3 separate regions of the Homo sapiens genome follow, and regions 2 and 3 are each linked to region 1. The links are contacts of gene promoters, found by promoter capture Hi-C in human tissues and cell types (Jung and others, 2019). All regions are on one chromosome and are shown on one strand. Each heading gives the region's core, a stretch centred on a gene start or on the middle of the fragment in contact. The rest is flanking DNA. Distances are from core to core; before and after follow the strand shown. Region 1 holds the start of SPATA2 (spermatogenesis associated 2). Region 2 overlaps KCNB1 (potassium voltage-gated channel subfamily B member 1). Region 3 overlaps LOC124904925 (a long non-coding RNA gene).

Region 1 (4,511 bases), core at 472-2,971:
AAAACATTTTCTGAGAATACAAGATGCCTTGTAGCTGGTCATAGCTGGTGTTTTTTCTGAGCACAGAGCCAGCAATTCATTCCCAGCACTCTGCAAGAACAACAAAATACGCTCTCTGCAAAAACATCGTGGTTACAGGAGACCGAGACAGCCCAGCGACAGAAGCTGCTAATTTCTCCAAGCAACCCAAGGATTGGAACGCCAAGCCGTGCCAGTCTGGTGGAAAAAAAAAAAAAAAAAAACCCAAAAAACAAAAAAACAGCACTGTGAATATCCTGAACACAGAGACAGGCAGGTGCCCAGAGTCAACGGCTCCAGTCAGCACCTCCTGCACCCACAATCTAGGTACCTTCTTGAAAAGCAAGTCAATGGAAAAAGAGATATTGCACAGTCAGGGAGCCAGTGGCTTCTTTAGTTATTTTTTGAACATCTAAGAGGAAAGCTGTATCTGTTTAGAGTCCCACTGCATGGAAGTGAAGTGATTCCGAGTAGCTAAGCATTAGCTTGGCTTTACCTCAGCTGGCCCATTCAAGCAGAAATGTTCCCCAAGCAGCATTTGAAGGCGCCCCCTCTCTGCACAGGCAGACCTATTTTGGTCTGTGCACTGCCCCTGTCCACAGGTTTACACATCCCTGGTCTAGCTCCATCAGCCTCCAAACAGGAGACGGGGAAGTCAGTTCAACCCCCTCCACCTCCCCACCCACACCAATGCACTCGTTCCAAGCAAGAGGCTCCGAGAAACATCCAAGGCACCTTCCACTGGCTGTGAAACACCAGAAGGTCCCCACACTCCTACTAGATTCCAAAGAAATTCACACAGAGTCCTTCCAAACCTCTGAAAATAACCTCAGCGGTGCTGAAAGAAGCTTCCCTAGTGGCAGCTGCCTCTCTCGGAGAAGCTCTGAAGGAAGCTGTTTCCCTCCCTGCAGGGGACAGAAGCTGGCGGCTGCTAAGTCCCAGCTCGGTCATTCCTACAGCCTCGGGGGGCCACGTCAGTTGTGAAAAACAGCCCAGTCTCAAATTCTGGCCCCCCCTACGGCTTCGTGAATTGAATGAAGTAACAGGAACTATCACTTATTGGACGCCTGCTGTATGCCAGAGGCCCTGCATGATCTCATTCCATCTCCACTCCAGCCCTAGCAACCAGGTTCAATCACTTAAATAGGCAACTGAGGCTCTTAAGATGAAGTGACTTATCCAAGGTCACACAGTGAGTACAAACCCAGGTGTGCCGCCAGAGCCTGAACTGGGAACCCCTGCGCGGTAACTGCCTCGTGGCGAAATCGGGGTGTCCTTCTGTTTGGCCAGTCGCCGAAGAGGGGTGTTCCTCTTGGGCGGCCCTGAGCCACCCTCGGCGGGTCCCAGGAGCCTGCGAGGCAGCTCCCGGGAGAATGGGGGTCCTGAGGATAGGCTGGGGGTCCCGGGAGCGCCGAAACAGCGGGCCCACCTGTAGTCCTGCCTGCCGTGAGGGTACCCCGCTCCCGGGCCAGCCGAGCCCTGCCGCTGTCTGGCGCCCCCTCCGCCTGGGGAAGCCCCGAAGGCAGTTTCCGCCCGCGGCCGCCCGTCACTCACCCTGACACTGCCGCCGAGGACGGCCCGGCCGAGGGAAGCAAGCGAGAGGCGCGGCTGCCGCCGGAGCCGGGCCCCGTCGGGCTCTAGCCTCTCCGGCCGGCTGCAGGGGTACTGAGACCAGTACCCGGGGGCCAGCAGCGACCCGGAAACACTCGGCCCGGAAATGATGTCACCATGAGGCGGGCCCGAAGAGAGGGTGGACCACGGCTGCGCGCTGGCTCCGGGAAGCGGTCGATGCCCGCGGCCGACGGAGACTACAACCCAGAGGCGGAGGACAAAGCGGAAGGCCGAAGAGCGAGGACGAAACCGGCGGAACCGCACTTTGGAGCCTAACGAGCCATCGCTGCGTCTGAGACTGGGACCCGGAAGTAAACAGGCCGGACGTGACGCAAGCCGCTCGGCCTAGGGATGGTGGCTGGCCGGGTTGTCATGGAAACCGCTCAGGAGCAGGGAGCTGGGAGCTATGAGTGCTGACTGCGTGAACTCGGCCTCCACTTCCCGGACCTGCCACTTATCATGATCCACGAGCTGTACTCATGACTCCGCACAAGCAAGCAGGGGCTGACGGTCGGATCCCTCGCCCCCATTTTACGGACAGAAGTACCGAGGCTCAAAGAGAGCCAGTGAGATGCTGAAATCACGCGTGATTGGAATCCAGCCTTGCTAGGGCTGCGGGTGTTACGGGCCGTGGGCGGCGGTTAAGAGCGTGGGTTCTATTTTTAGTTTTGCCACTTACTAGCTGTGTGACCTTGGACAAGTTACCTAACCTCTCTGAGCCTCAGCTTTCTAACCTGTAATATTAAATAATAAAGCCAGGCGTGGTGGCACGCGACTGTAGTCCCAGCTAGTCGGGAGGCTGAGGCGAGAGGATGGCTTGCTCCCAGGTGTTCGAGACCAACCTGGGCAACATAACGAGGCCACGTCTCTTAAAAAAAAAAAAAAAAAAAAAAAAAAAAAAAAGCCGGGCACGGCGGCTCACGCCTGTAATCCCAGCACTTTCGGATAAACTATATATATATATAATCTGACATCCCCACCAGACCCTGAGCTTCTTATTCATCTATTTCCCCCCGAGCTCTGCACATGTCTGATGAGGAGGCACACAACAGATGTTCATTGATTGTAGGATTCTCACTCTGAGTCTTGGTGACCCCAGCTAAAACCGGTGGGGCTTGTGTGATGAGTCAGTGACACAATACTGGGAAACGTTTGGAGAACCAGCAATCTGCTGCTGTCCAAACAGTAGCATTACTGTGTTTACCTGTCGTTGCCTGAGCACCGCTCAAAGTCCCTGTGTTCTTTATCAGCTCATGTTTAAGCTCCTCTCTTAATTATCTGCAATGTGATGATGTTCACAGGAATTCCATCTGAGACAAACTGTCCCACCTTAAGTCTGCCTCTTACAGCAACTCAGCACTCTGGTTTGGTAGCTCTTACAATATTGCATTTTCACGTGGGGCTGCTTAAAAAAGTCCCCTCCAGCTCTGTGGGTCTATGACAGGCAAAAGAGAAACAAAGATTTTGAAGAAGGGCTTTACCAGTAGGAAACCCTGGTCATCATCTACTATCAGAAAAGACCCAAAGTCTCCAAAGACAGTCACATTTCTCAGTTTTTTTTTTTTTTTTTTTTTTTTTTGAGACGGAGTCTCGCTCTGTCACCCAGGCTGGAGTGCAGTGGCACAATCTCAGCTCACTGCAAGCTCCGCCTCCTGGGTTCACGCCATTTTCCTGCCTCAGCCTCCGGAGTAGCTGGGACTACCGGCACGCGCCAACACGCCTGGCTAATTTTTTGTATTTTTAGTAGAGATGGGGTTTCACCAAGGTGGTCAGGATGGTCTCCATCTCTTGACCTCGTGATCCGCCCACCTCGGCCTCCCAAAGTGCTGGGATTACAGGCCTGAGCCACTGTGTCCGGCCATGTTTCTCATCTTTTAAACACAGTTGAAGGCTTGTGATTTCTCTACTTGGTGATGTAGAAATGACAGGAGCGTCCTTTCCCGACTTTATTATATAATGATTACCAGATTATGTAAGGGTCACGTGACAATGATTAGGCACTTCTACTTCCGAAGAGCCAACAACACGAACAATCTACCTACCTCTTTCTATTTTTTAGTTTTTTTTTCCATCACCAAAGTAATACATGATTCCAACAATACAGAGGAGTATAGAACAAAAAGCAAAACAGAAAAGCTACCCCATGACCCAGCAATTGGATTTCTCAAAATCTGCTAGAGAAACATACACTGTGCCCAAAGAGACCTCTTGCATCATTGTTTCTAATGCAAAAGCAATAATAGGAAATATTTAAATCTCCATCACTGGGGTAATGGTATATCCATACTAACAAATACTGTGGATCACTTAAAAAGGGTGATGCATGGCCAGGCGCGGTGGCTCACGCCTGTAATCCCAGCACTTTGGGAGGCCGAGGTGGGCAAATCACGAGGTCAAGAGGCCGAGACCATCCTGGCTAACACAGTGAAACCCTGTCTCTACTAAAAATACAAAAATTAGCCGGGTGTGGTAGCAGGCGCAGTAGCGGGTGCCTGTAGTCCCAGCTACTCGGGAGGCTGAGGCAGGAGAATGGCATGAACCTGGGAGGCAGAGGTTGCAGTGAACCGAGATGGCACCACTGCACTCCAGCCTGGGCTACAGAGTGAGACTCTGTCTCAAAAAAACAAAACAAAAAAAGTCAACTGGGGACAGGAACACAGATACAGATATCTGTCTTTCATTCCACAAACACACATTTATGTGATCTGTATTAATATCTTTCTCCCCCAGAAGTCAGTGAACTCCATGAGGACAAAACTATGTCTGTTTTGTTCACAATTATATTACTACTACCTGACATATATGCACTACCTAGCATGCAATAGGTTGTTCAACATAATTTGTTTCTGACCAGAATTTTCACTGAATACCTACCATGTGCC
Region 2 (4,529 bases), core at 1,697-4,196, 520 kb before region 1:
TCGGACCACCCAAATGCAATATGTTTACTGAGCACCCCTCCTATGCAAGGCACTATTGGAAAATGCAAGCTTGAATTAGCAGCTGGATGCCTGATACTAATGATATAATAACAGCTGAGATTTATTGATTTCTCACCAAAGCAGGCACTGCGCCAACTGCATTGCATGACCGATCTCATTTACTCCTTATATCAACCCCAGGAGGTAGATACTCTCGTAATTCCTGCTTTGCAATTGTGAAAACCAAGCCTCAAAAAGGTGAGGTTCCATTGGAGGAGGAAACATTTGGGCTGGGGCTTGAGGGCTAGAGATGGATTCCAGCAGGCAGAGATGGGAGTAGGGGTGTTCTAGGCAGAGGCAGCTGCATATTCAAAGGGTTGGAGGTGGGGAATAACAGTCAAGCCAGTTTGGCTAGGGCAGGTGTGCACACAGAGAGAAAACTGGCAAGAGGGGAGACCACCATTTACTGCACACCCGCGACATGTGAGGTACCAAAGCATTTATTCACCATCACCCCAGGAAGTAGCTCCTCTTTTCACCTTCATTTTTCAGAGGATGGATCTGAGGCTTGGAGCCCCTAAATAACATGCCCAGAGCCACACAGCAGGATTAGGACTTGAATTCATGCCTGTCTCACTCTGAGGCTGGGTCAGAGATGGATAGTCAGAGGTTCAGGAAGGAGTTGACAAGGCTGGCTATGGAGTAACTGAGCATGTACTGGGAGCCAGGCACAGCATACTATCTCAATTAATCCTCACAAGTACCCAGGAGGTAGGTATTAGTGTGGTGGATATGTTTTTGGATAGTTTAGCATCATTTTTTGGGAATTGTTCCTCCTCCACAATCACGCATTAAGTGAAGTTGACCCTGTTTCTCCGTTTCAGGGGGTAAGAGTGAGATCCAAGCTTACCAGTTAGGATAATTCATCTCCCTGGCCACAGGGATTACTTTAGTAGTGTGGGCATGACTAAAATTGGTCAATCAGGGTTCATCCTGGAACTTTTTCTCAAATTATTGGGAAAGAGGTGGTCTCTTTCATCAGGGGCTGTTGGGTTAACAGGATATCAACCAGAAGTGGCTGGAGGGTCAACTCTGGCTCTCTGGGGAAAAAAAATCTGCCCAAGAGTGTAGCCAAAGCAGAGGGACTCTGTGCCAAGACACAAAGACAGGTTTCTAATGACATTATTTGAGCACCTGGATCCAGCCATCCCTGAAGCCATCCCTTTGGATTTTCCAACAATATGAACTGATGAATGCTCTTTTTGGATTAGGCCAGTTGGGCTGGATTTCTGACCCTTGCAAATAAAAAGTGATCTGACTGAACAAAATTGTTATCTTAATTTTACAGGTGAGAGAGCTAAGATTCATAGAGGTAAAATGACTTGCGTTTAGGATCCACAGGAAGGAAGGGGCTGAATCACACTGAGATATCACAAAGAAAGTGCATGGCATCTACCAGGTCCTCAAGAAATGCCTGTTCCCTTCTTCCATAGATCAAGGAGTGGTGGAGAGAAGGACGGGAGGAGGTATACCCACTGGTGGAAGCTCCCCCATGAGCCGCAAGCTTCTGGGCAGATTCTAGATTGCATCTGGAATCCTCCAAACTCTCCCAGCCTGCACTGGGGTCTGGCAGGAGCAACCAAAGCCCAGGAGTTGACACATAAAGTGAACAAGCGGTCAGATGTCAGCATTTGAACAAAATTCCTGAGGATCCCACTCTCTCCAAAAAAGTGTCATCTAAGAGCCCTGGCTGCAACACAGGGTTTCCATAGAAGGGCCAGAAGTCTTAGCACTTCTCAGGGCTTACGCTTAGTAGGATCTTGTACAGATAATTGTTTCAGTACCACCAAGGATTCTGTGGTCACTTGAACTTCTCAAAGCTCCTTCATATTGAAACTGGATAGAGAGTAAGGGGTTAGCCTACAAACTTTGACTTTGGACAAAGTTGGGTTCCAATCCTGGCCCTTGGCAGCTGGGTGACTTTCGGTACATTACTTAACCTCTCTGAGTCTCCCGTGTGAAACAGGCAGAATCGGAAGATGAAGTCAGACAAAACAGGTAGACACTCTTAGTACAGAGTTTGGAACCACTTCAGCTTTTGGGCAAGCAGATTAGTTCTAGATATAGGTTGAACTCTGGCATGTATGATCACATTAACTCTCTGAGCCTCAGCTTCCTCATCTGTAAAATGGGGCTCAGAATAATACCCCCTGCACAGGTGGTTGTCAGGCAGCAATGAAATCATGCATGGAAAATGCGTACCCCAGGGTACGCATGTGAACCGAGGACACCCTGCCAGCAGGACGGCCCCCCACTCATCCACCGGCAGGGAGTTTTGGCCCACACAGTGAATTCGTTGCCAATATTTATTTTCCCTATGAATTCACATTTGAGCTTCTCAAGAAAAATCTGAAGCTCTGGGTACTCTTGGTCCACGCTGCTCCGTGGCAAGCCCAGGCTGCCGCTGCGCGGTGTTAAGTCCAGTCCTGTACTCTAAAATCTCACGTGCACCCTGTGCGTGTTGTTTATGAGGCTCGCTTGGCTTCTGCAGGAATCTGGTTTGGGAGCCCAGGAATAAATCATTAGACGTGTAGCCAGCGATGAGGGAAAAGATTAAACAGTGCCAGAGAAGCAGTCATGGGTTCCTTAGGGAATGCTGGGCCAAGAGCTGGGTCCGCGAGATGCCCTGGATCAGGAATATGCGGATGGAATCCCTGCCTGGGCCAGCCCCTCATCCATCCGTATATGGCTGCAGAGAAGCCATGTTGCTGCTTCCTTAGAGCCCCTGGCTGCATTTTCCCCTCGTCTCTCCTGCTTCTAGACTGCTCTGAAGCTCCTCCTAGTCCCCACCGCTCATCCTACCACACCTCAGTAAAGCAGAATTAGAGGATTAAAAAAGACGGGCAGGAGATAGGGGACTACTTTAGCCCAACGGCTTTGGAGGGCCTCACTGAGGAGGTGATGCGTGAGTGCGGATCTGAGGAATGCAAAGGAGCCAGCTCGCAAAGATCTGGGGAAAGGCCGGTCCGGGCAGCAGTCACGGCAAGTGCAAGGGTCCTGGGGCAGGGAAGAGATTGGCAAGAAGAGGAGGAGAAAGGCGACCAGTGTCCCTGGTGCTAGGGAGGAAGACAAAGGGCGTGAGAGTTGAGGTCAAAGAGAGAAGAGAGGCAGGCCTTTAAGACCTGATAGGATGTTTTGAACCTGAGAATCCTGGGAGCCACACGGCCATGGCCTAATGTAGGTTTAAAGATCCCCTAGCTCTAGCCAGGCGCAGTGGCTCATGCCTGTAATCCCAGCACTTTGGGAGGCGGAGGTGGGCAGATTACCTGAGGTCAGGAATTCGAGACCAGCCTGGCCAACATGGTGAAACCCTGTCTCTACTAAAAATACAAAAATTAGCCGGGCACGGGGGTGGGCGCCTGTAATCCCAGCTACTCGGGAGGCTGAGACATGAGGATCGCTTGAACCTGGGAGGCAGAGGTTAAAGTGAGCCGAGATTGTGCCATTGCACTCCAACCTGGGCAACGTGAAACTTTGTTTCAAAAAATAGTAAAATAAAATAAAATAAAATAAAATAAAATAAATAAAATAAAATAAAATAATCCCCGAGCTGCACCTAGGAACAGCCTGTAGGGGGACTGGAATAGAAACAGGAATCAAAGTGAGGAGGCTGTGGTAGGTGTCCAGGCAAGAGACTGTGTCTGTTCACAGTACGGAAGACAAATTCAAGTTATATTTTGGAGGTGAAATCAACCAATTGCTGATGGCTCAGATGTGTGGGGCGAGGGAAAGAAGAGTCAAGATGGAATCCCAGGTTTTCATCCTGAGCAACTGGGAGGATAGTGGTGGTGTTTCCTGAGATGGAGAGGAATCGGAGGAGCACCTGGGGCCAGATCATGGGGGTGCTGTGAACATCAGCTGAGGGGTCTGGACCAGACCCCGCAGACAATGGGGAGCTTGGGAAGGCTTCTGAGCAACAGCAGAATATTCATTCAGTCATTCAACAAACATTTGTGGTAAAAGCTTGTCCATATTCTATTCTCTCACAGACGGCAAAGCTCCCCACAAGCAGCCGTGGGTTATGGGCCACAAACATCCTTCCTGGGCCTATAGAGTGCACGAGAAAGCTCTACCTGCCCATCCACATTTTCCCTTCCCGACTTCTTCACCTCTGGCTTGAGGAGCTGAAGAGCATTTAAAAAATATTCATGGCTGGGCGCAGTGGCTCATGCCTGTAATCCCAGCACTTTGGGAGGCCGAGATAGGCAGATCGCCTGAGCTCAGGAGTTTGAGACCAGCCTGGGCAACATGGTAAAACCCCGTCTCTACAAAAAATACAAAAATTAGCCGGGTGAGTTGGCGTGCACCTGTAGTCCCAGCTACTTGGGGGGCTGAGGTGGGAGGATCGCTTGAGCCTAGGAGGTCGAGGCTGCAGTGAACCATGTCACCGCCACAGCACTCCAGTTTGAGTGACAGAGCGAGACCCTATCTCTAAAAAAAAAAAAATTAAAAAAATTAAAAAATGAAAA
Region 3 (4,600 bases), core at 1,305-3,804, 610 kb before region 1:
TGAATGAACACGATCAAATCTCCAGGGAGTTAAAGTGAAGGTTCTGATTCAGCGGGTCTGGGTGGGCCTGAAATTGTGCATTTCCACCACACTCCCAGGGGATGCTGATGCTGGACCATGCTCTAGGGAGCGAGGGCCAGGCCTGGTTAACGTTTACCTTCTGGGGCAGGCAGAGGGCTGCTCCCCTGAAACATCTTGGTGGTCTTAGTGAGGAAGGAAGAAAGTGGGGCTCATTGGAGACTAGCTGTGGGGTAGGCAACTCCCGTGGCATTCAAAGAATTAAAGGTTAGGGTGAGGTTAGAAGCTTACACCTGGGCAACCATACAAATGCAAAAGCTCAGACATCTGTTCCCAACTCCCTGATGTGCCAGGAGGGCCATGTTTGCCTAGGTTTTGGCTCTACTTCCTAGCCAGAGTCAGGCCTGAATACCCAGCGTGGGCTTAGTTTGCTTCTCCTGAGGTTACTCAGGAACCTGTCTTTCTGGAGAAGCCAGTGCCATGTCCAGAGGTGCCCTCCTCTGCGCTGCAGACACCACGGAGACTGATAACAGGGCTGCCAGCTGGTTTAATTACCCAGATGGGAAGCTGGCAGGTGGAGTCTAACCTTGACAGAGATTAATGACTCCATTATCTTCCTAGGCTATCATCCCGTGCGGGCCCCAGTCCGGAATGTAGACATAAGGTGTAAATAAAGTCCTTGTTCTGAGGGAGGACATTTTTCATTGTCTTCAGATGGGAATTTGCCCCCAGAAACCCTTGACTCAAATTCGGGAAGTATCTTTTTTTGGCAGAATAACCTGGTCGTTTGTGGGCATGTGACAGGTCTCCTAAAGGCTGGGCCAAGGCTTGCTGGCAAAACCAATGTTACTTGTTTCCTTAAACTCATTAAGAAATACGTGCCTGTTGTAAACAACTTAAAGTGACAGCTCTTGTCTCCTTTCCCACTCTTTGAAGGTAACTATTATACTTAACTCTTTGGCGTATAGTCTTCCAAATATATTTCTTTTTCTGTTTGTTTTCTTCTCCAGATAAAGTTTCCCCCCAAATTTTATTGGGGCATAATTATAGTACATTTATTTATTTATTTATTTGAGATGGAGTCACTCTGTCGCTCAGGCTGGAGCGCAGTGGCACAATCTTGGCTCACTGCAACCTTCACCTCCTGGGTTCAAGTGATTCTCCTGACTCAGCCTCCCGAGTAGCTGGGATTACAGGCACCTGCCACCATGCCCGGCTAATTTTTGTATTTTTAGTAAAGATGAGGTTTCACCATGTTGGCCAGGCTGGTCTTGAACTCCTGACCTCAAGTGATCAGCCCTCCTCGGCCTCCCAAAGTGTTGGGATTACAGGACTTGAGACACTGTGCCTGGATGGTGGCACATATTTAAAGTATATAACTTGATTGGTCTTTAAAATTATTTTATTATTTGCAGAGATAATAAATCTTCCTTAATAAATAAAACAATCTTCCTTCCTCACTTTGTTGCCTAGGGCTGGTCTGGAACTCCTGGGCTCAAGTAGTCCTCCTGCCTTGGCCTCCCAAGGTGTTGGGATTACAGACATGAACCTCCAAGCCCAGCCCCAATTTGATTACTCTTTTTTTTTTTTTTTGAGATGGAGTCCCACTCTGTCGCCCAGGCTGGAGTGTGGTGGCATGATCTTGGCTCACTGCAAGCTCTGCCTTCCCGGTTCACGCCATTCTCCTGCCTCAGCCTCCTGAGTAGCTGGGACTACAGGTGCCCACCACGCCCGGCTACATTTTTTTTTTTTTTAATATTTTTAGTAGAGACGGGGTTTCACCGTGTTAGCCAAGAGGGTTTCGATCTCCTGACCTCGTGATCCGCCTGCCTTGGCCTCTCAAAGTGCTGGGGTTGAGCCACTGCGCCCGGCCTATTATTATTATTTTTTGAGATGGAGTCTTGCTCTGTCGCCCAGGCTGGAGTGCAGTGGCGCGATGTTGGCTCACTGCAAACTCCACCTCCCTGGTTCACGCCACTCTCCTGATTACTCTTGACATAGACCCATTAAACCATCTCTCCAACTAGGATAGAGCACATGTCCCTCACCCCCAAAAGTTTCCATGTGTCCCTTTGTGATTCCTTCCTACCTGCATCCCCTCCACTACTGAACAACAACTGTCACTATAAATTAGTTTGCATTTTCTAGGTTTTATGGAAATGGAATTATGCAGCATATGTATATGCTTTTGCCTGGCTTCTTTCACTCAACATAATGATTTTGAGATTCATCTATGTTGTAGAAATCAACAATATGTTGCTTTTAATTGCTGAGTATATCCCATGGTATGGATATATCACAATTTGTCTATCCATTCATCTGTGGATGGACTTTTTAAGTTGCTTCTAATTTATGGTGATTACAAATAAAGCTGCTCTGAACATTTGTGTACAAATCTTTGTGTGAACAGATATTTTAGCTTCTCTTAGGCAGATACCTAGGAGTGGAAAGACTGAGTCATGTCACATGGTAGGTACATTTAACTTTTCAAGAAACTACCGAACTGTTTTCCAAAGTGGTTTATCTCATTTTGTGTTCTCACCAGCCCTGGGTGAGAGTTTTATGCGCTCCACATCCTCACCAACCCTGTGATGATCAGTCTTTCTAATATTTGCCATTCTAATGAGTGTGAAGCGGTATCTCATTATGATTTTAACATGCATTTCCCTAATGTCTAACGCTATTGAGTATCTTTTTATGTGCTTATTGGCCATTTGCATGTATTATTTTGTGAAGTGTCTGTTGAAAATTTTGTTGCTCTTTCTTTTATTGGGCTGTTTTCTTATTGTTGAGTAATAAGGGTTCTTTATATATGTTAAATGTCTAAAATGCTACATTTTAATATAGTGGTGTCCTCAAAGTGGGAGTGATGAATTTTATCTAATTTTGTCATGGTCAGGGGAGGAGTTGTGCTCTGGAAGCCCATCCATGGGGAAGGTGAGGTTCAAACTCTAAGATAAAAACTCTAGATAAAATTTTAAGTCCTGCTGTGGATGGCTGTTGTTTCTTTCTGCCCAGCATTTACACCTTTTCTGATAACAACTCACCCCAATGTTTTCAAGGGAGAATTATTCTTCCACCATTTTTAGTACCTGCGGTTTGGGTGAAGCTGACCCTAAACCCTGGCTCCTGGGGAGGGGTATGACCTTGGCCTGGCCAATCAGCATTTTCATCTTCCTGGCTCTGTAATGTGCATGTAACTCAGATGGATCCAATGGGATTCAACTTTAGGACTTTTGCTGGAGTGACTCTTTGTATTGGTCTCAGCTTCCTCCTCAGCCACCTCCTTCCTCAGCCACCTCCTCAGAGAAGCCCTCCCTGACTTGCAGAAGAGATGAGGCATCTCTGATGTGCTCAGTTAGCTCGCTGATCTTTCATGCACAGCACTTATCACAGCTATTAACTAAATATTTGTATGATTATCTGTGTAATAAATTTCTGCCCTCCAGACTGCAAGCTCCATGAAACTGGGGCTGCATCTCTTTTGTTCACTCTTGAGTCCCCAGCATTGGTATAGCCTATCCGTATATTTTGAACGTGAAGATGACAGGATTTGCTGAGGAATTGGATGCATGCTGGATGTGGGAGAAATAGAAACTTGAGACTTAATAAATACTTGTTGAGTGAATGTAGGAAGCTACATTTGTGCATGAGAAAACTGAGGTCCAGAGAGGTGAAATGACTCTCCCCAAATCGCACAGCAAGTCAGGAGCAGAGCTGGAATGTGAATTCGGGGCTGTCCAACTTCAGAGCTTGTGCTCTTCCTCAGCACCCTAAATGACTCCTTGCAAACTGAACATAATTTTCCACAACAAACACTGCTTAGGCATGGCAGATACCTCTGAAATAAACTGTGTTATTTATCTATTGCTTCATAACAAATTACTTCCCAACCTTGGTGGCTTGAAACAACATTTATTAACTCATGATTTCTGTAGGTTGGGATCCAGGTGTGGCTTAGTTAGGTCCTCTGCTTTGGGGCCTCTCATAGGCCACAGTCCAGGTGTTGGCTGGGGCTGCATTCTCATCTTAAGGCTTGACTGGGGAAGGATCTGCTTAGGGAAGGATTTGCTTCCAAGCTCTCTCTCTTTTTTGTTGGAGGGATTCAGTTCTGAGGGTTCTTGGTTGAGGTCCATTCCTTGCCACATGGGCCTGTCCCTTGGGCAGCTCACAGCATGGCACCTGGTTTTATCAAAGGAGTGAGTGAGTGGGAAAAAGTGAGCAGAAAGGAAGTCATGGTATCTTGTAGCCTCATCATGGAAGTGACATCCCATCATGTTTGCCTTGTTCTATTCATTGGAAGTGAGTCACTAAGTCCAGCCCACACTTCAGGGAAGGAAATTACATAAGTGAAAACAAGTTTGTGAATGCCCAGGTCAGTGGGAGTCATCTGAGAAGCCTGCCTACCACTTAAACTAAGTCTCTTTCTCATGTAGCTTAACTTCTGGTCAGGGGAAGTGCACAAAAAGCAAACAAATAAATAAAAATATAACACATCAGATGATGCTAAAATGCTTGCAGAAAATCATGTGGAGGAGGTTATGGAGGGCTGGGTGCAGGAGGAGACTAAGCATTCTTACTT

Evidence for each region. The method cuts DNA at HindIII sites, captures the fragments that hold promoters and counts their contacts. A contact is called where the count stands out against the background at its distance.
Region 2: a fragment that was not itself captured here is called in contact with the fragment with the promoter of SPATA2 in region 1 in 2 of the 25 tissues and cell types used here (dorsolateral prefrontal cortex and lymphoblastoid cells).
Region 3: a contact is called between a fragment that was not itself captured here and the fragment with the promoter of SPATA2 in region 1, in 1 of the 25 tissues and cell types used here (spleen).

Annotation. Positions count from the first base shown.
Region 1 is chr20:49,913,808-49,918,318 of GRCh38, forward strand. SPATA2 (spermatogenesis associated 2) reads right to left here and starts at 1,722. Exons shown (of 3, transcript NM_006038.4): 1 at 1,573-1,722. LOC105372653 (a long non-coding RNA gene) reads left to right here and starts at 2,015. Exons shown (of 3, transcript NR_134564.1): 1 at 2,015-2,278. RefSeq lists enhancers at 740-909, 1,704-1,763 and a silencer at 1,424-1,673. The HindIII fragment of the contact is 5,477 bases long and covers 1-4,511 here.
Region 2 is chr20:49,392,804-49,397,332 of GRCh38, forward strand. All of the region lies in intron 1 of KCNB1 (potassium voltage-gated channel subfamily B member 1), which reads right to left. All of the region lies in intron 2 of LOC105372649 (a long non-coding RNA gene), which reads left to right. Among named protein-coding and RNA genes, the nearest start is that of KCNB1, 88 kb to the right of the region's middle. The HindIII fragment of the contact is 4,918 bases long and covers 488-4,529 here.
Region 3 is chr20:49,306,600-49,311,199 of GRCh38, forward strand. LOC124904925 (a long non-coding RNA gene) reads right to left here. Exons shown (of 2, transcript XR_007067637.1): 1 at 4,599-4,600; 2 at 3,918-4,200. Among named protein-coding and RNA genes, the nearest start is that of SNORD12, 28 kb to the left of the region's middle. The HindIII fragment of the contact is 7,715 bases long and covers 1-4,600 here.